7 separate regions of the Homo sapiens genome follow, and regions 1, 3, 4, 5, 6 and 7 are each linked to region 2. Evidence: promoter capture Hi-C in 16 types of primary human blood cells and fetal thymus (Javierre and others, 2016). All regions are on one chromosome and are shown on one strand. The core of a region is centred on a gene start or on the middle of the fragment in contact, and the rest is flanking DNA. Distances in the headings are between cores, read along the strand shown. Region 1 overlaps ARCN1 (archain 1 coat protein complex I subunit delta). Region 2 holds the start of RPS25 (ribosomal protein S25). Region 3 holds the start of TTC36 (tetratricopeptide repeat domain 36). Region 4 overlaps MCAM (melanoma cell adhesion molecule). Region 5 holds the start of RNF26 (ring finger protein 26). Region 6 overlaps ARCN1 (archain 1 coat protein complex I subunit delta). Region 7 overlaps LOC105369519 (a long non-coding RNA gene).

Region 1 (2,772 bases), core at 239-2,738, 440 kb after region 2:
TCAGCCTCCTGAGTAACTGGGACTACAGGCACAGGCCAGCACCACCAAGCCTGGCTAATTTTTCTATTTTTAATAGAGACAGGGTTTTGCCATGTTGGGCAGGCTGGTCTCCAACTCCTGGCCTCAAGTCATCTGCGCGCCTTGGCCTCCAAAGTGTTGGGATTACAGGAGTGAGCCACTGCACCTGGCCCATCCACTTTACTGATGAGCATGTTCAAAAACTAATTATAGGTACTGGTAATCTCCATTTTTGCGATATTATAAGAATTAACTGAGTAATTATTTATCGAACATCTACTATACATACAACATGCTTTCTGAGAATTAAGATGACACAGGCTAGCATTCTGCCTACAAGAAGCTTAATAGGGATAAGACACAAACACAAATAACTGTAATATGAGGCAGAATGTGTTAAGTAACATGAGAGAGTAACCGATAAAGTGCGTGGAAATTCAGAGGAAGAGATTACTTCCAGCTGGTACAGTCAGGGATGACTTGATAGAAGAAACAGCATTTAGGCCGGGAGCGGTGGCTCATGCCTTAATCCAGCACTTTGGGAGCCAGGGCAGGCAGATCACCTGAGGTCAGGAGTTCGAGACCAGCCTGGTCAACATGGGAAAACCCTGTCTCTACCAAAAAATACAAAAAATTAGCCAAGTCTGGTGGTGCACGTCTGTAGTCCCAGCTACGGGGAGAGTGAGGTGGGAGGATTGCTTGAACCTGGGAGGCGGAAGTTGCAGTAAGCCAAGATCATACCACTTCACTCCAGCCTGGGCTACAAAGTGAGACTCTGCCTCAAAAAAAAAAAAGAAAGAAAGAAAGAAAGAAACAGAATTTAGATCATGCTTTGATGAATTCCAGGATTTGTTTGTTTTGAAACAGAGTCTTGCTCTATTGCCCAAGCTGTAGTGCAGTGGCGTGATCTTGGCTCAGTGCAGCCTCAACCTTCTGGGCTCAGGTGATTCTCCCACCTCAGCCTCCCAAGTATCTGGGACTACAGGCACAGGCCACCACACCTGGCTAATTTTTTGTATTTTTCTGTAGAGACAGGGTTTTGCCATGTTGCCCAGGCTGGTCTCAAACTCCCAACCTCAAGTGATCTGCCCGCCTGAGCCTCCCAAAGTGCTGGGATTACAGGCATGAGCCGCCACACCTGGCCAGAATTCCAGGCTTTCAGTACGTCAAGATGAAGAAAGAAGTAGGGTAAAATCATATGTCTCTCTTTGAGTCATTCCATTATCCAGATACAAGCAAAACAAGGCTTCCAAAATAGGACCATAGTTCCCCATACTAAGTATAGCATAAATCTCCGAACACCCAGGACACCACAAATTACAGGTTCCAGGCAGTTGACACAGGTCTCTCTGTTACAGCTACTAATATGGCTAGAAGGTATGGTCACCTCTAAACATGATAAATTTATCCTATCCTAAATTAACATTTGTCTTCTTAAAGTTCTTGAAATAATAAACCTCTTTACATTAATGTTTACTGGTTTAACAATTATTAAAATATAGCATATACTAAAAGGTAAGTTAACAATTTTCCCTATTGAAATTTGATCTGATTTTCTCTGAGGAAGAATTAATAAATATGATTACAAAGTTTTTGGTTTTTTTTTTTTTTTTTTTTTTTAACATTTTTGGAAAAAACATTCCAGATCTAAAAGGAACTTGCAAGAGCCCTTGATTGTCTTACAGATGTGAAAACTGAGGGCCCATAAGTTAGATGATCTCTCCAGGACGGTTAAAAAAAAAAAAAATTCCCTCATAAAGTTGAGCTTTGCCAAACAACTTTTAATAATTCTTACATGGTTTGAGTACACTATCTTTGGACTAAATAACAACTCTCTCCTACACAGACTTAACTACATGAATTGTTAAGTGCCTCAAGTAAAAAAACCTGGAGAATTAGGTTTCTGTTCTGCCTTTGCCACTAATTATGTGACCTTGGATAAGTCACTTAATTGATTATTGAAATATCCCTAACATAGGAGGTTAGTTTACATGAAATCCAAAGTGCTCTGTGTCTTTAAAGTTCTGTAAGTCTAAGCATTTGAAAACTACAGTAACAGAAAAAAAAAAAAACAACTACAGTGACAGAAAATGTACAATACTTCCATTTTATACCCACTGCTCCAGTTCTAACCACTTTGGAACAATATTTTATAGTAACATTAGGCTGCCAGAAGGCAAATTGTCTAACCATAACAAATTGTGTGTGCAAGAGAGATACAAGAATAACAGGTGGTATAATAATTCAGGATAAATATGCACAACTCTCTCTCAAAAAAAGTCAAGTTCTTTCTTGAATCTCTAAATGCTTCAGGATCCCTTACTTCCAGAATTATAGTCACCTTCTCCTTTGTAATTCACCGCAATATTTTATACACATATACATGCACACACAATTCATGGTCATATTAAGGCTAGTTTCTATAATTGTCAGGGAGGACTGTTCTGTCTTTTCTATTTATATGAAGCTATTATAGATAAAATCAGAGAGAAGATTACAATAAAATGTAGACCACATACGAAACCTAAAACTTGAAAAGTAATTTACTCAGTGAGGGTTTTAAGTCCATCACATTTCTATTCTAAAACAAAAGCTTGCAGAGAATTAAAACACACACACACACACACACACACACCCGTTATCAGTTTCTGCAGTGAACTTCTATATGAAGACATAAATAGATGGCAAATCAATGGAAACTCAAGAGAATCATTTTCTTTCTTTGCTGTCCCTCAAAACACAATTAAAAAGATA
Region 2 (2,872 bases), core at 3-2,502:
TGGCACGCGCCTGTAATCCCAGCTACTCGGGAGGCTGAGGCAGGAGAATCGCTTGAACCTGGGAGGCAGAGGCTGCAGTGAGCCGAGATCCCGCCACTGCGCTCCAGCCTGGGTAACTCCGCGGCCCCTCCCCACCCAGCAAAAAAAGATGACACCACTGCCGTTATTACCTAAAATCTAGATCTGGATCGGTTGCGTTTTTCATAACACCAGAACGACGATTTAAGAAAAGGTAGACAAATTACAAGCGCTGCCGTTCAGGAGACGGGGGACTTACGAGTGGAACATGGAGGCCAGCATAAGCTTCTCATTAGAAGTGAGGCGGGGCCGGCCAAATCGAATGGACACCGGGTAATTAGCAGGGTTACCCAGATACTCCAGCACCTCTTTCCCGTCGGCCGTGTACCTGCCATTCACGTCCATGCCATTGATGGCCAGCACTGCATGACCCACTGCAGAGGTGAAGCTAACGGTCAGCGAAGGTGCAGCCCGGGGATTCCGCCGAGGGGACAAGGGACCCGACACAACCCCTTTTCCCCCAACCCCGCACCTACAACCAGCCCACTTCTACAGCACTGGGGCCCTCCCACCCCCGCACCCGCCACGGGCCCGAGCCTAGCCCACCTCGGATGCCGTCCCGCTGGCCGAAAGCAACCAACACACGCTCATCGTGTAGCTTGAGCAGCAGATCCAGCGGATAACTGAAAGTTTTCTCAGCCTCAGCCCGTGGCGCGTAGCTGTCCAACTGGTAAATCAAGCCGCCAGCTTTGTTCACCACATACACACTAAAAATCGCCATCGCTGCCTTGCCGCTCGGAAACTGGTATTCAGCCTCTACCCGACGGCCCCTCCCCGGAACCGCATCACAGCACTTGCCGCCGGCCCCACCCCAGCCTCCTCCTCCTCCTCCTCCTCCTCCCGCGCCCCCCGTGCAGCCACCTGCTGCACTTGCGCACTGGGAGCGACACGCTCGGGCATAAGTAGTGCCGGAAAGTTAGCTGCCGAGACCTGGTGGATTGCTTTTCGTTTATCAGTGCAGGAAAACAGCGCTATAGTATGCGTCACAACTAGCGCAGACTCCGGCAGTATTTAGGCGGTGCGGCTTGGGAACTAGAATCCACTTCCTGTCTTCCGCCTCAGGCTAGAGGGCGAGCGCTTCGCCGTGGGACTTCTTCTGCCTGGCTCCGCCTTTTGCCCCGGAAGTACTCACAGCGGACGGTGGTTTTTGGGCCCGTTTCTGAGCAGCGCTTCCTTTTTGTCCGACATCTTGACGAGGCTGCGGTGTCTGCTGCTATTCTCCGAGCTTCGCAATGGTAAGCTTCAGGGGTGTGAAGTCGCCGGCGTTCTTGGGTTTGAGGACTCAGTGGGGAGAGCCTTCGGCGGGAGCGCTCCTTGGCCTGCCGGCCTCGGTTGCAGGGCGGGCGCGGTTATTGCTTGGCCCATGTGCTCTGGTGGTGGAGTTTGCGGGGGCTGAGGGCGCAGTATTAGGGGACTTTGGCGCTATTTGAGGACCTGGTTGCATTCCCGCTGCCCTCCTACAGCCGCCTAAGGACGACAAGAAGAAGAAGGACGCTGGAAAGTCGGCCAAGAAAGACAAAGACCCAGTGAACAAATCCGGGGGCAAGGCCAAAAAGAAGGTAGAAATAAGACCTCTCTGAAAGAGACTAGGGGTAACTCTCTCGTAATCCTCTAGTAATAGGTAACTTGTATAGTAAGTGGTTTTTCAGGTGTAGATTTCTAGAGTCAAAATGTGAGAGTTTATCTTCCCGTCACCACTCGTTCTTTTTCCCATTAGGATCATGAAAATGGGTCTGTTGTGCGAAGTGTCTGCCGCTGTGCCTGCTGTGTTATTTTTAACTGATCTAGTGGGGCTCGGCCCCTGTTTGAAGGCCAAAAACGTGTCGGTGTTTTTTTTTTGTTTTTGTTTTAGTAATGTGTAATTTATCCTTGATAACGGTGGAACAGATTTCTCTGACGCAGATTACTCGAGAGGGAAAGGGTGCTTCTGCCAGAAATACTAACTTGTTTCTGTTTTGTTTTGGTGAGCAGAAGTGGTCCAAAGGCAAAGTTCGGGACAAGCTCAATAACTTAGTCTTGTTTGACAAAGCTACCTATGATAAACTCTGTAAGGAAGTTCCCAACTATAAACTTATAACCCCAGCTGTGGTCTCTGAGAGACTGAAGATTCGAGGCTCCCTGGCCAGGGCAGCCCTTCAGGAGCTCCTTAGTAAAGGTGAGGGGTGTATCCTACATGTGTGTTTTTGTAGGTTAAATTGTCTTGACCATGTTAAGCATCTTCAGTGGTTTTGCTGGAAAAGCAGAATTAAAAAAAAAAAGCGTGGCTTGACCATTGGCTGTTAGTAATGTAATTCTGACGTCTTACTCCTGATCCTGAGATGAATTCTCAGGGTTCTTAGCCACTTTTGTGCCGTGGACCCTGTGGCAGTTTAGTGAAGCCCAAGGATCTTTTATGTTTCGAGTAAATGGATGCATAGAATTACAGGGACAACCGTTTTTGAAATAATTAGATTACTATTTTGAAACAACTTTGAAAATGTTTAAAACCTTTATGGTAAATATTTTGTTGATGTATTAAATTTTAAAACCAGAAATTTAGTACGGTCTACTCAGTAGTATGGTCTGATTACCATAATTCCACAATAATAAGGCTCAGCTAACTATAGTGACTGAACGTCTATAATTCTAGCACTTTGGGAGGCCAAGGCGGGTGAATCAACGGAGGTCAGGAGTTAAAGACCAGCCTGGCCAATATGGTGAAAACCTGCTCTACTGAAAGTTAGCTGGACGTGGGGGCACACGTCTGTAATCCCAGCTACTCAGGATGCTGAGGCATGAGGATCCCTTGAACCCA
Region 3 (2,700 bases), core at 1-2,500, 490 kb after region 2:
AGGCAGATGGCTTGGCCAAACCTCTCCAGGGCTGTGCTGAGGTCCCCAGCCTCTGCTGCCATCACCCCCTGCAGCTCCAGGGCCTTGGACTGTTCCAGCTGTGCTTGAGGGAAAACTTCATCTGGGCCAGGGAAGGAGCCAGGAGAAGCCAGGTGTGCAGTTGGTAGCAAGAAGAAAAAGCCACCTCAGGCTTTGGAATTCTGAGATCTGAGCCAGAGCTGACTGGGTATGGGTCACAGCAGGGGTCAGTTGCAGTGTTTGGGGTAGGGGGAGATGAGGTCACTAAGGCTGGGAGCTAGCATTGCCTGAGTTCCAAGAGACCTGGGAAGGGGCCTTGGTTGGTTCCCCATTGCCAAGAGAATGAAGCCCAGACTCCTCAATCTGTTAAAGAAGTTGCTCAAGTTCTTTGTGTATGGCCTCAACAGGCCATACGTTGCAGAGCTTGGATTTGAACCCAGGTCATTCTGGCTCCTGTCTGCATTTTACTCTACTACACCGCCTCTTATGCAAAGGCCACCATGACATTCCCAGATCATGAACATCACTTCTGACGTATCCCTCTGTGTTTCGGCCTGAGTTAGTAAGGTGTAGGCTTTACTCCTCTAGAAACAAAGGATCAAAAACTCCTTCATTAGGGATTAATGGAAAAGCCAGTGAACGCACTCACTGCGGAAGAGTTAGTTTGGAGCTTGGCTTGTGACAGTGTTTAACGGTTACTGGTTGTGCTTGCTATATTGGAACCACTCAACTGAGCAACCATGCCCTGCCTTATTTCAGTCTTCTGTTCTGGTGGTGGTATTCTCTGTTATGACAAAAATGTGAGAGTTTAACATCACCTGGCAGTTAAGCTTGGATCATACAGTCAATTAAGTGGTAAGTTCAGAGGCATGAGAGCTGATGGATCGAGAGACAAACCCCAGCTTACTCCTCTTGGCAGGACATCTCTTACCAAACCCCCATCAGTGCGCTAAGGAGCAGCCAACCTCTCTGATTCCAATCTCAATCATAATCATGGAACAAGGGGCCTTATAAAACCACCTCCCTCTCTGCTACCTCGGGAGGCCAGCAGGCCAGCCTATGTGCAGAGCTACACTCCAGATCAAATGCCCACCTTCTTCTCGTTCTTCCTTTTCTGCTTCCTCTCCGAGGTCCAATCCAACAATGTCTCCAAATGGGGTGTCAGGGTTGAAGATGGCCTGCAGCACTGCCTGATCATTTGGAGTCCCCATGGTGCTCAACTCCAAAATCCCAAAAGGTGACTCCAGATGAGAGAAGAGGGAGGGACGTGGTGAGGGTGGAGCCTCCAGCAGGAAGTTGATCTGAAAGGATGAGGACCACCCCTTCGTGAGGAGTGTCTCCCTGTCCATGGCTGTAGCATTTGCTCAACCTGTGGCCTGGAGGGTTGACCCTGGCTTGGCAGACTACTTGGTTATTTCTCAACTGCCCCTGCCCCCAGGAGAAACAGTAAACAAATCCAGCTTCAGCCTTAAGGTGGAGTGCAGCTAGAGAAGGTGTTCTCCAGCTTCTCCCTGAAATGCTTTCAGTTTATTATATTCACAGTTGAGAAAACCGATAAAAATCAATACTTAACCTCCTTGGATGAAACAGGGGAGCTATGTAGAAGGTAAAGGCCCTGTTCCTTTGTCCTCTTGACCCTGCCTCATATCCACAATTAATTAGGTCCTGAACATACATCACTGATGAATAAAGGAAGAAAATAGTCAAGAGAGCCAGTGTGGAGTGGACCTGAAGGTGGGCTACAGGGAATAATTTAGTGATGCCACCTTAAAGTAAAGGACTGTGGAAGGTACTTTGTGACCAGGTCACAGGCCATGCCCCTCCCGCTTTTCTCCACCCTCTCCAACCAAAGCCAAAAGGAAGCTTAACCATGTGCAGCAATAAACTTGACATGTTTATTAATTAAACTATCACTTAAATAAAAAAAAGTGCATAGAAAATAAACATGTTTAAAAACTCCTTTTTTTTACAACTATGTACACTTTTTACTTTTACATTCAGTCTTTCGTAGAGAGCTTTCAGCATTATTATTTTTTGAACTATTAAAGTATTTTCCTTCATCCCTGTCACAGGGAGTTAACACTGATGGACTTTAGACACATTTTCCTTTTTTTTTTTTCTCTTTTTCTCTAACCAGAAGCTTGGAAGAACACAAGGAAAAAAAACAGATCTGTTATACATGATAAAGTTGTCAAAAAATGTCTTATTTCTAGAAAAGAAGCTTGTCATCTGTTGAGCTCTTGAAACAATTATTCAACTACCTGTATTTACTAAAGAGACTGTTAAAAGTTCAATAAAAGAAACACCACAATTCTATTTTCTTGGTTGAAAGACAGAACTAGAGTACCTCGGAACAAGATACCAGGAAAGCACAGAACACAATTTTCCCCTAAATGCAGGTGGTAACCCCAACATTCATAACCAAAAATAGAGAAACAAGGAGGACAGGTACTGACTGGCAACATTCATGGGCAGAAAAAAATCCAGGTGACACCATGTCTGCATTTTTCTCTGATCCGAGGAATGGACTGTTCTACCATTCCTTTATGGTTAGAGGTTCCCCCCATTTCGGGAATCAGAGGAAAGTGAGCCTGACATCTTCCTGCCGCTACTAGCAACTGTAACACAATCCTTATCTATAGTGTTAAGAGAATTAAAAGCCATGGACTGAACTAGGCTTTG
Region 4 (2,700 bases), core at 201-2,700, 290 kb before region 2:
CCTGTTTTCTGTGAGTACTAACCTGACTCTCTGCTTACTGGGGCTGGGGCTGCTGGAAACTCCTGCTGGCTCCCCCTTATCCAGCCCAGGGTTGACTCATGGGCCAAGAGCTACCCCCTTTGCCTATGCAGACCCGACAGAAAAAGTGTGGCTGGAAGTGGAGCCCGTGGGAATGCTGAAGGAAGGGGACCGCGTGGAAATCAGGTGTTTGGCTGATGGCAACCCTCCACCACACTTCAGCATCAGCAAGCAGGTGTGGGGGCTTTGTGCTGGGTGCAGGTGGGGATGCAAGCAGAGACCCAGGTGGAGTGGCGGGAGGTGCACTCTGCTCACCTCCCCAATCCTCCCTAGAACCCCAGCACCAGGGAGGCAGAGGAAGAGACAACCAACGACAACGGGGTCCTGGTGCTGGAGCCTGCCCGGAAGGAACACAGTGGGCGCTATGAATGTCAGGGCCTGGACTTGGACACCATGATATCGCTGCTGAGTGAACCACAGGAACTACTGGTGAACTGTGAGGGGCTGGGGACCCAGGACAGGGGGACCAGGCTGGGGCAATAGGGAACTGGCCCCACCCTGCCCTGGGTGACATGATTGCTGTACCCCCAGATGTGTCTGACGTCCGAGTGAGTCCCGCAGCCCCTGAGAGACAGGAAGGCAGCAGCCTCACCCTGACCTGTGAGGCAGAGAGTAGCCAGGACCTCGAGTTCCAGTGGCTGAGAGAAGAGGTACCCAGGCGGGTCTGGGGCAAGGGGCTGATGGGGTGGGTGGGGCTGGCGGTGACAAGAATGTGCTCTTTCCCAGACCCTCTGACCCATCTCTCATCCCAGACAGGCCAGGTGCTGGAAAGGGGGCCTGTGCTTCAGTTGCATGACCTGAAACGGGAGGCAGGAGGCGGCTATCGCTGCGTGGCGTCTGTGCCCAGCATACCCGGCCTGAACCGCACACAGCTGGTCAACGTGGCCATTTTTGGTGAGGCCCTCCCTCTGGGTAGAGACCAGGTCACCCCAAGTGGGGTGGTTTTTAAGCTCTTTGACAAAAAGCCACCTGCTGCCCTGGGGAGCTCTGGTGCGGAGGGGGAGGCAGGCTAGCTGGGCTTGCCACCTCACCTCTCCCTACCTCCCCAAGGCCCCCCTTGGATGGCATTCAAGGAGAGGAAGGTGTGGGTGAAAGAGAATATGGTGTTGAATCTGTCTTGTGAAGCGTCAGGGCACCCCCGGCCCACCATCTCCTGGAACGTCAACGGCACGGTGAGCGGGTGTCTCATCTGCCACACTCTCCTAATCCCTGCCTGCGCTTTGTGGCCAGGACCAGAGATCCTCCCCATCCCCTGAGCTGCCTCCTTCCTTTCCTCGCAGGCAAGTGAACAAGACCAAGATCCACAGCGAGTCCTGAGCACCCTGAATGTCCTCGTGACCCCGGAGCTGTTGGAGACAGGTGTTGAATGCACGGCCTCCAACGACCTGGGCAAAAACACCAGCATCCTCTTCCTGGAGCTGGGTGAGGGCTGCATCCCTGCAGGGGATGGCAGGGGCAGGCCCAGGCACGGGCAGTAACTTGCGCTTCTCCTAACACCCCTCCCTCTGCCTCCTAGTCAATTTAACCACCCTCACACCAGACTCCAACACAACCACTGGCCTCAGCACTTCCACTGCCAGTCCTCATACCAGAGCCAACAGCACCTCCACAGGTAAGCCAGGCCTGGCAAGAGAACAGGGCTGTGCCAGGGCATCCTTTCTGCCCTGTCCCTCCCCAGAGAGCCCTGTCCAGAAAGGTGAGTAGCAGCCCCATCTTGTCGGCCCTGGACTGGCTGGGCCAACGATGGTGACGAAGTGGCCTGGGGCAGGGAGTGACGAGGAGTGTCTTTGTGGCGCAGAGAGAAAGCTGCCGGAGCCGGAGAGCCGGGGCGTGGTCATCGTGGCTGTGATTGTGTGCATCCTGGTCCTGGCGGTGCTGGGCGCTGTCCTCTATTTCCTCTATAAGAAGGGCAAGCTGCCGTGCAGGCGCTCAGGGAAGCAGGAGATGTAAGCCCAACACCGGCCCCTCCGCCCCCGCCCGTTTTGCCACCCAGCCTGCTGCCTGCCCAGCGCCCGCCTGCCCCTTGACAGCAGGAGTGGGGCCCTGGGTCAGGGTGCTGCCTGCTCCACTACCCACTGCCCAGCTTCCATCAGCCACATGGTCTCATGACCTGCTTCCCTGCCCTGGGCTGGCCCTGGAGCAAGGAGCCCTCATCCATTCCACATCCTTCACAGCGGGCCCTTCTCTTCCTGTGGCCCTGAGATACCAACCTCTCACCTCCCTCCCTCCTCCCAGCACGCTACCCCCGTCTCGTAAGAGCGAACTTGTAGTTGAAGTTAAGTCAGATAAGCTCCCAGAAGAGATGGGCCTCCTGCAGGGCAGCAGCGGTGACAAGAGGGCTCCGGGAGACCAGGTAGGAGGCGGTTCCTGTGGCCAGAGCCTGCCACATCCTCAGGGACCGGGGGCAGTAGGGACTAACGGTTCTCTCTATCCTTCATCCCTCTTTGTCAGAGATAGGGAGCAGGCCCCATCTTGCCTTCTTAACACTACTCACAGATGGCAGGGCCAAGCAAGTGGCTGAGGGAGCTTGGAGGAAGACTGAGAAAGACCCTGTCCCATCACCTTTTCCTGACCAATGCCCGTGGCTCTGGGTGTGGCCATTTCACCAGTGCAGTCAGACGG
Region 5 (2,700 bases), core at 163-2,662, 320 kb before region 2:
CTCTCGAAGACGGTGGTAGGATGGCCGGGCATGGAGCTGGCTGAGTGCCTGGGTAGCCAGCCTCAGGGTGAAGTCCGGATGCAACACAGTCACCGTCACTGCCAGCACACAAGCTAGCAACACCAAGCCAGTGAGATTGACAAGCACAAAGCTGGCCAGGAGGCGGGCAGCTGAGGCCAGCAGCTCCAGGGCTAGTTGGCAGGGTGTCCAAAGGAGGATGGCCATGGCCACAGCACTGCTGGAAATGTGGGCTAGGAAGGCAGCCACTACGTCCGTCATCCTCCACAGAGGCCCGGTCACTGCATCCCACAGGGCCAGCACCAGGGAAAAGAGGTTCTGAGTGCCGATGAGGCAGATGTTGACCAGGCTGTTGATCACATAAGCCACCAGGCTCATGGCAATGGCACAGATGTCACAGGCCTGGCGCAGCAAAGCATGGCCACTGGAGACCACATTGAGGACGCCCCGGTGCAGTATCTCCCTGCTCCGCAGTGCCCCATGAGAGGCCAGGTGCCCCAGGAGCTTTAGGCTCTCTAGGCCAGAGCAGCAGCTATACAGCAGAGTACACAAGGCCTGCAAGCCCCCACATGTGAACCGGACCACGGCTTCGATCAAGGCCAGCAATGAAAGCAAGACTCCGCGGCCCAAGTGCAGAAGACTAGTCAGTACCGTGTGCGGCAGGTTGTAGACGAAGGCCAGGAGCCAGGCCAGGGAAGCCAGGAGGGAGGACACCAGCAGGAAGTTGAGGTCCAACACCAAGGTCAGCACGTCCAGCACCAGGCCCAACCCATTCACTACCAGGTACACTGCCTCCATGATAGGGCTATGGAAGTTAGTCCAAAACAAAGTCTGGCTCCTCGGTTGGGGGGTTGTCAAGGTTGTCAATATTTTAGGGGGTCTGGGATTAATTTGGAAGGAAAATGAGCAGTCTCCAACCCAGGGGGTACCAAGAATCTGAGGAAGAAGTGGGTAAGACGGAAGTGGAGTCTTGGTAGAGGGAAAGGTGGCCAGGTGCCAGTCCAAGAGTCCAGGTTTTGAAGATGGGCTGTTTGGGAGGGAAGAGGCCAAACATCTCTAAAGCGAAGGCGAGCCCAGGCCGTAGGAGCGACCTCAGCTTTGGATGCCTGGTGTGGCGAACCACGGCCGGGCAACGGGTCAGACCGGGAGGAGACGAGGAACGGATGGAATGGGATCGGATCGGATCGGGTCGCGTCGGGTCGGGCCGGGGCCGGGTGGGGTCGATGTAAGCTGGGCGCAGGCTCTCAGTCCAGCTACGCAGGTGCCCCTGTCCCCGCCCGGCCCCCGTCTTCCCGCTAGCGGCGCTTTGCACCCAAAAGGGGAGTGGGAGAGGCAGCCAGCTTCAGCAAACCCCAAGCGCAGCCCCTACTCCGCTGGGCGCCGCCATCTTGTGTGCAAAGGGGTGGAGCCAGAGGCGTGACGAGGAGGGAGGGACGACAAACTCCAGCCAATCGGTGAAGGCCAACCACAAAAACGTCGATCACTCATTGGTCCGTTTGAATGGCGCCCGAACGTATTTACTTTCCAAAGGGAAGGAGAGGCGACAGATTAAATCCCCTCCCCCTTTAGGCGGGGATTGGTTCGTTGGCGGGCAGCGTCGAAATACGCTCTCCTAGCCCCACCCTCTAAAAGAGCAGGGTCTTGGACTCCCCTCAATTTGGGAGCTGTTCTTTCTCCCGGCCTCTGAACGCGAGGTTTTTTTTTTGGCTTGGGTCGGAGGTCACTGCCTCTGGGCTGGGCTTTGGAATAGCACCGCCTTCGCAGCCTGCCCAGATCCGTCTCCTCATTCTCTTCTATTTATTCATCTATTCTATCATTTATTGAACTCCTACAGTGCATTGAGGATACAAAAAAATTTTAAGACAGTGCCTGCTGTTCACAAGGGAAAGCAGATTATTACAGGGGATTCCCAAACTGCTATTCCAAACTTTCCTCACCAGGTTTTTCAACATCTCGGAAGATTACTTCATTGTCATTGAGAAAAAGGGGCTACAGATTTAGAAACCGCTCAGCTTCCTACCCTGGGCCTTCCTACCCTAGAGTGCAGTGGCGCGATCTCGGCTCACTGCAACCTCTGCCTCCCGGGTTCAAGCGATTCTCCTGCCTCAGCCTCCCGGGTAGTACAGGTGCCCACCACCTCACCCGGCTAATTTTTGTATTTTTAGTAGAGACGAGGTTTCACCATGTTGGCCAGGCTGGCCTCGAACTCCTGAACCTCGTGATCCACCCGCCTCGGCCTCCCAAAGTGCTGAGATTACAGGCGTGAGCCACCAAGCCCGGCCCTGCCCTTTTCTTTAATACTCAAACAATAGTCAAAATATATTTGAAACCCCATCCCAAATATATTGGGAATCCTGGCGTTTTCTACTAACTCCAAGGATGCTTAGCAGACTCCTAGTGGACTTATCTTTCCCCTGGTCACCTTTGCTGAATTTCCTACTTGAGTTGAATTCTCCATCTCCACTCCTGGGCTCCTGAAAGTGTCCGTCCTCCTTCAGTCTGCCCTGAACACTGCCTCAGAGTCCTTCATTCTCCAAAGCATCACTGATAAGAAGCTGAGGTGTGCAGCAAACCTTTACTGAGGCCTTGGGATCGTGGTAGGGGTACGCTATAGTGCAGAGGAAGGACTGCAGTCGCTGAAACTCCTCTGGCTTCTTCCTACCCTTTCTCTCTCCCTGCTCT
Region 6 (2,700 bases), core at 2-2,501, 420 kb after region 2:
AACTTTTTAAAAACAAACTAAGTATGAAATATAACTATATTTAGGGATTATATTTAGGGATTAAAATAAAGGAGCAGCTGGGCATGGTGGCTCATGCCTGTAATCCCAACACTTTGGGAGGCTGAGGTGGGCGGATTGCCTGAGCTCAGGAGTTCGCGACCAGCCTGGGCAACACGGTGAAACCCCGTCTCTACTAAAATACAAAAAATTAGCCAGGCGTGGTGGCGTGCACCTGTAGTCCCAGCTACTCGGAGGCTGAGGCAGGAGACTTGCTTGAACCCAGGAGGCGGAGGTTGCAGTGAGCTGAGATCATGCCATTGCATTCCAGCCTGGGTTACAAAGTGAGACTCCATCTCAAAAAATAATAATAATAATAATAATAATAATAAAATAAAAATAAAGGAGCAACTTAGGTAAAGGTAGAGGAGGTATTTAACTGGGGGCATTCTCTGGAGAGCTTGCTTTCCTGCTGGCCAATACAATCTGCCAAAGAAAATTAGCAGCCTTTCCCTTTATGTTTGTGCCATTTCCTTATCAAAGAATGTCTCTGTGACACTGAAACATGGGGGTGAGTCGAGGGTCCTTGCGCGCAGAGAATCGTGCATTGTATCAGAAAAAAGGGGTCTCCAGTGGCTTGTAAATCTGGGAAAAACTCTTCAGCCATCATTGGCGTCTTCTTTATTAATCTGAAAATTTTCCTTTTCAGCTCCCTCTTCTTGGTATTACAGAATTTCATACTTATCCACTAGGAAAGTGGTCTCTGTGGAAAACCTGACGGGGCTGTTTCCATCTACCTGGGTCACTTTGGTAACCTAGGAAAATAAACAAAGAGTAAGGTAAAGCAGGAGGTTTGAGTCTCCATCATGTTGACTACATTCTCATTACAGAACATATCAATTTCCCTAAAAGCGGTATTAAAAGTAACTGTAAAATACTAGAAAAATGTTCAATTCACAACTGAAAGTCACAGCATCACTCTTCCCCACCAAAATGATTAAGCTGCTTTTCTTCTAGATGGAGAAAAGACAACTGTTGGGACGAGATGTTCCGTAGTATTAAGTAAAAGCTCCAAAATGAGTGGCCACAGCCCAGCCCTGCCCTGTATAACCTATGAAATTCATAGACATTCTATCAGGATGATATATTAACATTCTGACCCAAAAGGCAACGTTCTAGCTCTTCACATTATTCATTTGCTCTGCTCTCAAAGTCTCGTGTTAAAAGTCCCAGTAAGCTGCTCTATCATACTTATTTTTTAGGCATGGCTGGTCCAATGAGGTTTTTCCTTTTTAAATAAATAAATGTCCAGCTTAATTAATTACATGTAACAATGGTACCTATAACGGCACCAATACAACACTTGAACCACTGATTCGTATTTTCTAATGAAGTTTTGGGAGAGCAATTATAATGTCCTAATCTTTGAATAGCCCCAATAGGAAAATTTACCCATTTCTATCTAATGTCTTGAGTTCAATACAGTTGCTTCCAACACTGATGGGGTTATGTCACTAACAGGATAGGGAGAGAGAACTGCTCTTTGGAATCATTCAAGGGAGGAAGCTGCAATTTTCTAAGCATTTACAGGGGAGACGGAGACCATATGGGAAGCTAAGGTAGGGCCAGAACAACAAGCAAGTCAAAAAGAGGGGAATATTAATAATATAAACTGGGTCCTAGTAATGCAAATTAAAAAACTGGAAGAACAGCCAGACGTGGAAGCTCACTCCTGTAATCCCAGCACTTTGGGAAGCCGAGGTGGGCGGATCATCTGAGGTCAGGAGTTAGAGACCAGCCTGGCCAACATGGTGAAACCCCATCTCTACTAAAAATACAAAAAAAAATTAGCTGGGTGTGGCAGTACACGCCTGTAGTCCCAGCTACTTGGGAGGCTGAGGCAGGAGAATCACTTGAACCTGGGAGGCAGAGGCTGCAGTGAGCTGAGATCGCACTGCACTCCAGCCTTGGTGACAGAGCAAGACTCCGTCTCAAAACAACAACAACAATAAAAACTGGAAGAATGATGAGTTAAAAAATAATGATCCGGGCCGAGCGCGGTGACTCGCGCCTGTAATCCTAGCACTTTGGGAGGCCGAGGTGGCTGGATCACGAGGTCAAGAGTTTGAGACCAGCCTGGCCAACATGGTGAAATACCGTCTTTACTAAAAATACAAAAATCAGACAGGCGTGGTGGCGCATGCCGGTAGTCCCAGCTACTCAGGAGGATGAGGCAGGAGAATCGCTTGAACCTGGGAGGCAGAGGTTGCAGTGAACCAACATCACGCCATTGCACTCCAGCCTGGGCAACAAGAGTGAAACTCCGTCTTAAAAAAAAAAAAAATCCGCCAGGCGTGGTAGTTCACGCCTGTAATCTCAGCACTTTGGGAGGCTGAGGTGGGCGGATCACCTCAGGTCAGGATTTCGAGACCAGCCTGACCGATATGGTGAAACCCTGTCTCTACTAAAAATACAAAAATTAGCCAGGCATGGTGGCAGGCGCATGTAATCTCAGCTACTGGGGAGGCTGAGACAGAATTGCTTGAACCCGGGAGGCAGAGGTTGCAGTGGGCCGAGATCATGTCACTGCACTCCAGCCTGGGCAACAGAGCAAGACTCCGTCTCAGAAAAAAAGGAAAAAAATCCATTGGGCACTGTGGCTCACACTTGTAATCCCATCACTTTGGGAGGCTGAGGCGGGTA
Region 7 (2,740 bases), core at 241-2,740, 320 kb after region 2:
GTTCAGGAGTCTGTTGTAAGGAAATAATACTACAGTGCATAAAGACATGAGTACTCAGGCGTTCATTCTCCCCAGCGCTGTCTGTAAGAAAAAAAGGAATAAACTAAAATGTTTATGTTTATTCAGTGCTTAGTGATAAATAATTAAATAAATGTTGACACATCCACATAGTAGAATGCTGTGAGGCCATTAACATTAGAAGGTGGTAGAAAACATAATAACAGCCGTGCACGGTGGCTCGTGCCTGTAAATCCCAGCACTTTGGGAGGCCTAGGCGGGCAGTATCACCTGCAGGTCAGGAGTTCAAGACCAGCCTGGCCAACGTGGCGAAACCCCATCTCTATTAAAAATACAAAAATTAGCCAGGTGTGGTGGTACATGCCTGTAGTCCCAGCTACTCAGGAGGCTGAGGCAGGAGAATCACTTGAACCTGGGAGGCAGAGGTTGCAGTGAGCCAGGATGGGGCCACGGCACTCCAGCCTGGGCCAGCAAAGTGAGACTCCATCTGAAAAAAAAAAAAAAAAAAAAAAACCAAGAAAAGAAAAGATACTGACATGGAAAGGTAAACATGGTATGAATAGACCCAGGGATGGGCCCTGTGGTCCCACTCCCTGGTGTTCACACCCTGTGTAACCTCCTCCCCTGGAGCGCCGGTAGGACCTGCAACTTACTTCCAGCTAATAGACTGTGAAAAAGGTGAGGGGGTTTTGCAGACATAATTAGGGTCCTAAGTCAGTTGATTTTGAAGTCAAGGGGGCATTTTCATGGGTGGGCCTGACTAAATCAGGTGGAAGTCTTTGAAAGAGTGTCTGGGCCCTCTCAGAGGGTCAGAGACTCTCCGTCTATTACTGGCTTTGAAGAAGTAAGCTTCTCTGTGGTGACAGGGCCACTCAACAAGGAACTACTGTAGTCTCTAGTTGCTAAGGGCCATCCCTGGCTGACAGCCAACAAGAAAACATGAACCCCAGTTCTAGTCTTACAACCATAAGGAGAAGAATTCTGCCAACAGTCTGAGGGAGCTTGGGGGCCAATATTAAGCCTTAGATGAGACCAGCTGAGCCTCAGATGAGACCATAGCCCCAGCCAGCACCCGGACAGCAGCCTGGTAAAGCTCTGAAGCGGAGAACCTAGGTGAGCTGGGCCCAAATTTCTGCCCTCAGAAAAAGATGTGTGTTGTTTTAAGTTCCTTATCATGTGAAAAACAAAGAGCAGGTTATGAAATAATGTGTAGCAAAATCCCATTTTTGACTTGGAAAATGGGATCTTGACACATACTTAGGAAAAAACCTGAAACAAATACCAAAACACAGATGTTATATAAGGACTACAAAGGTATTATAAAATAGGATTAGAAAGTCTAGATACTTCAGGAATTAAAAGCATAAGAAAAGAGTAAAATACTATGACTAGGTACCATGGTTTGAATGTTGTCCTCTCTGCAATTTACATTGAAACTTCATCCCCACTGTGTCAGTGTTTTTTTTTATTTATTTATTTTATTTATTTATTTTTTGAGATGGAGTATTGCTCTGTCGCCAGGCTGGAGTGCAGTGGCGAGATCTCGGCTCACCACAACCTCTGCCTCCTGGGCTCAAGTGCTTCTCCTGCCTCAGCCTCTCCAGTAGCTGGGACTACAGGCGCATGCCACCACACCGGGCTAATTTTTTGTATTTTTAGTAGAGACGTGTTTTCACCATGTTAGCCAGGATGGTCTGGATCTCCTGACCTCATGATCCGCCCGCCGCGGCCTCCCAAAGTGCTGGGATTACAAGCATGAGCCACTGCACCAGGCCTAATTTAATTAATTTTCAAGTAAACTAATTAAGTGAAGATACAAAGTTGCAGAGAAAGAACATCTAGATTAGGCTGAGGCTGGGCACCTAACAGTTAATACCCTTTCATTTGTAATTGACATAGAAATATATTTAAATTGGCTTAAACAACAAGAAGCAGTTACTGCTCGTGTTACTGAAAATGAATGTGGTTGAATTCAGGTGGGAAACGATGCAGCTTTCAACCAGGCTTCAGGATCTGCTCCCTTTAAATCTCAGCTCTGCTCTTCTCCATGCTAGCTTCATTCCCAGGCTCTTTCTCTAACTAAAATGTAAGCTTAGGCCAGGCATGGTGGCTCATGCGGGAGGATCGCTTGAAGTCAGGAGTTCAAAACCAGCCTGGGAAACATAGTGAGACCCTGTCGCTATAAAATAAAATGTAAATGTATTGCTATTTTTATTTTATTTTTTTAATATGGAACACTTCATGAATTTGCACATCATCTTTGTGCTGGGGCCGTGCTAATCTTCTCTGTATTGTTCCAGTTTTAGCATATGTGCTGTGAACCAAGCACTGTGAATGTAAATAAAATAAAATAAAATATCACTATCATGAGGATAGTGACTTTCTCTTTTTTGTTCACTATTTAATCCCCAACACTTAAAATCGTATTTTTATTACTGCACATCATAAGCACCAAAAAAATTTCCAGGAAAAAAAGGAGGGGGCCAGGAGTGGTGGCTTATCCCTATAATCTCAACACTTTGGGCAGGAGGAGCTCTTGAGCCCAGGAGTTCAAGACCGCCCTGGGCAACAAAGTGAGACACTGCCTCTACAAAAATAAAAATTAAAAAAGAAAGAAAAGAGGAAAAGAAGGCGGAGGTATAGCAGCACAACAATTCTGGAGCAGAATAAATAAGACTATGTTAAATACATTTTAGAGAAACCGAATAACACTGAAGACAAA

Evidence for each region. Contacts are between HindIII fragments. The CHiCAGO score rates a contact against its expected background, and 5 or more counts as called.
Region 1: a contact is called between a fragment that was not itself captured here and the fragment with the promoter of RPS25 in region 2, in 6 of 17 cell types (non-activated CD4 T cells, total CD8 T cells, total CD4 T cells and 3 more). The highest score is 7.9, in non-activated CD4 T cells.
Region 3: a contact is called between the fragment with the promoter of TTC36 here and the fragment with the promoter of RPS25 in region 2, in 6 of 17 cell types (naive CD4 T cells, naive CD8 T cells, non-activated CD4 T cells and 3 more). The highest score is 9.2, in naive CD4 T cells.
Region 4: a fragment that was not itself captured here is called in contact with the fragment with the promoter of RPS25 in region 2 in 2 of 17 cell types (fetal thymus and naive CD4 T cells); the score reaches 5.8 in fetal thymus.
Region 5: a contact is called between the fragment with the promoter of RNF26 here and the fragment with the promoter of RPS25 in region 2, in 2 of 17 cell types (fetal thymus and neutrophils). The highest score is 7.8, in fetal thymus.
Region 6: a contact is called between a fragment that was not itself captured here and the fragment with the promoter of RPS25 in region 2, in 3 of 17 cell types (naive CD8 T cells, total CD4 T cells and non-activated CD4 T cells). The highest score is 7.4, in naive CD8 T cells.
Region 7: a fragment that was not itself captured here is called in contact with the fragment with the promoter of RPS25 in region 2 in 7 of 17 cell types (M1 macrophages, non-activated CD4 T cells, naive B cells and 4 more); the score reaches 7.5 in M1 macrophages.

The regions. Positions count from the first base shown.
Region 1 is chr11:118,575,293-118,578,064 of GRCh38, reverse strand. The region is part of intron 1 of ARCN1 (archain 1 coat protein complex I subunit delta); the gene reads right to left. It also overlaps a transcript of IFT46 not described here. Among named protein-coding and RNA genes, the nearest start is that of ARCN1, 4.3 kb to the right of the region's middle. The HindIII fragment of the contact is 2,250 bases long and covers 364-2,613 here.
Region 2 is chr11:119,016,723-119,019,594 of GRCh38, reverse strand. RPS25 (ribosomal protein S25) reads left to right here and starts at 1,252. Exons shown (of 5, transcript NM_001028.3): 1 at 1,252-1,313; 2 at 1,542-1,637; 3 at 2,050-2,233. The coding sequence starts at 1,311. TRAPPC4 (trafficking protein particle complex subunit 4) reads right to left here and starts at 829. Exons shown (of 5, transcript NM_016146.6): 1 at 625-829; 2 at 278-452. The coding sequence starts at 799. RefSeq lists enhancers at 258-956, 1,211-1,440, 1,461-1,530 and a silencer at 851-970. The HindIII fragment of the contact is 1,015 bases long and covers 306-1,320 here.
Region 3 is chr11:118,526,024-118,528,723 of GRCh38, reverse strand. TTC36 (tetratricopeptide repeat domain 36) reads right to left here and starts at 1,250. Exons shown (of 3, transcript NM_001080441.4): 1 at 1,112-1,250; 2 at 1-121. The coding sequence starts at 1,229. KMT2A (lysine methyltransferase 2A) reads right to left here. Exons shown (of 36, transcript NM_001197104.2): 36 at 1,892-2,700. All of the region lies in intron 1 of TTC36-AS1 (TTC36 and KMT2A antisense RNA 1), which reads left to right. The HindIII fragment of the contact is 1,033 bases long and covers 851-1,883 here.
Region 4 is chr11:119,310,080-119,312,779 of GRCh38, reverse strand. It overlaps MCAM (melanoma cell adhesion molecule), which reads left to right. Exons shown (of 16, transcript NM_006500.3): 6 at 1-10; 7 at 132-253; 8 at 352-514; 9 at 610-728; 10 at 831-972; 11 at 1,129-1,250; 12 at 1,359-1,500; 13 at 1,595-1,690; 14 at 1,877-2,024; 15 at 2,314-2,431. Among named protein-coding and RNA genes, the nearest start is that of MIR6756, 1.6 kb to the left of the region's middle. The HindIII fragment of the contact is 5,572 bases long and covers 1-2,700 here.
Region 5 is chr11:119,333,239-119,335,938 of GRCh38, reverse strand. It overlaps RNF26 (ring finger protein 26), which reads right to left and starts at 1,412. Exons shown (of 1, transcript NM_032015.5): 1 at 1-1,412. The coding sequence starts at 816. RefSeq lists an enhancer at 879-1,770. The HindIII fragment of the contact is 9,565 bases long and covers 1-2,700 here.
Region 6 is chr11:118,598,737-118,601,436 of GRCh38, reverse strand. It overlaps ARCN1 (archain 1 coat protein complex I subunit delta), which reads right to left. Exons shown (of 10, transcript NM_001655.5): 10 at 1-812. The coding sequence ends at 723. Among named protein-coding and RNA genes, the nearest start is that of PHLDB1, 7.5 kb to the left of the region's middle. The HindIII fragment of the contact is 9,298 bases long and covers 1-2,700 here.
Region 7 is chr11:118,701,949-118,704,688 of GRCh38, reverse strand. LOC105369519 (a long non-coding RNA gene) reads right to left here. Exons shown (of 4, transcript XR_007062909.1): 3 at 1-81. It also overlaps the pseudogene RNU6-376P. Among named protein-coding and RNA genes, the nearest start is that of TREH, 24 kb to the right of the region's middle. The HindIII fragment of the contact is 1,242 bases long and covers 870-2,111 here.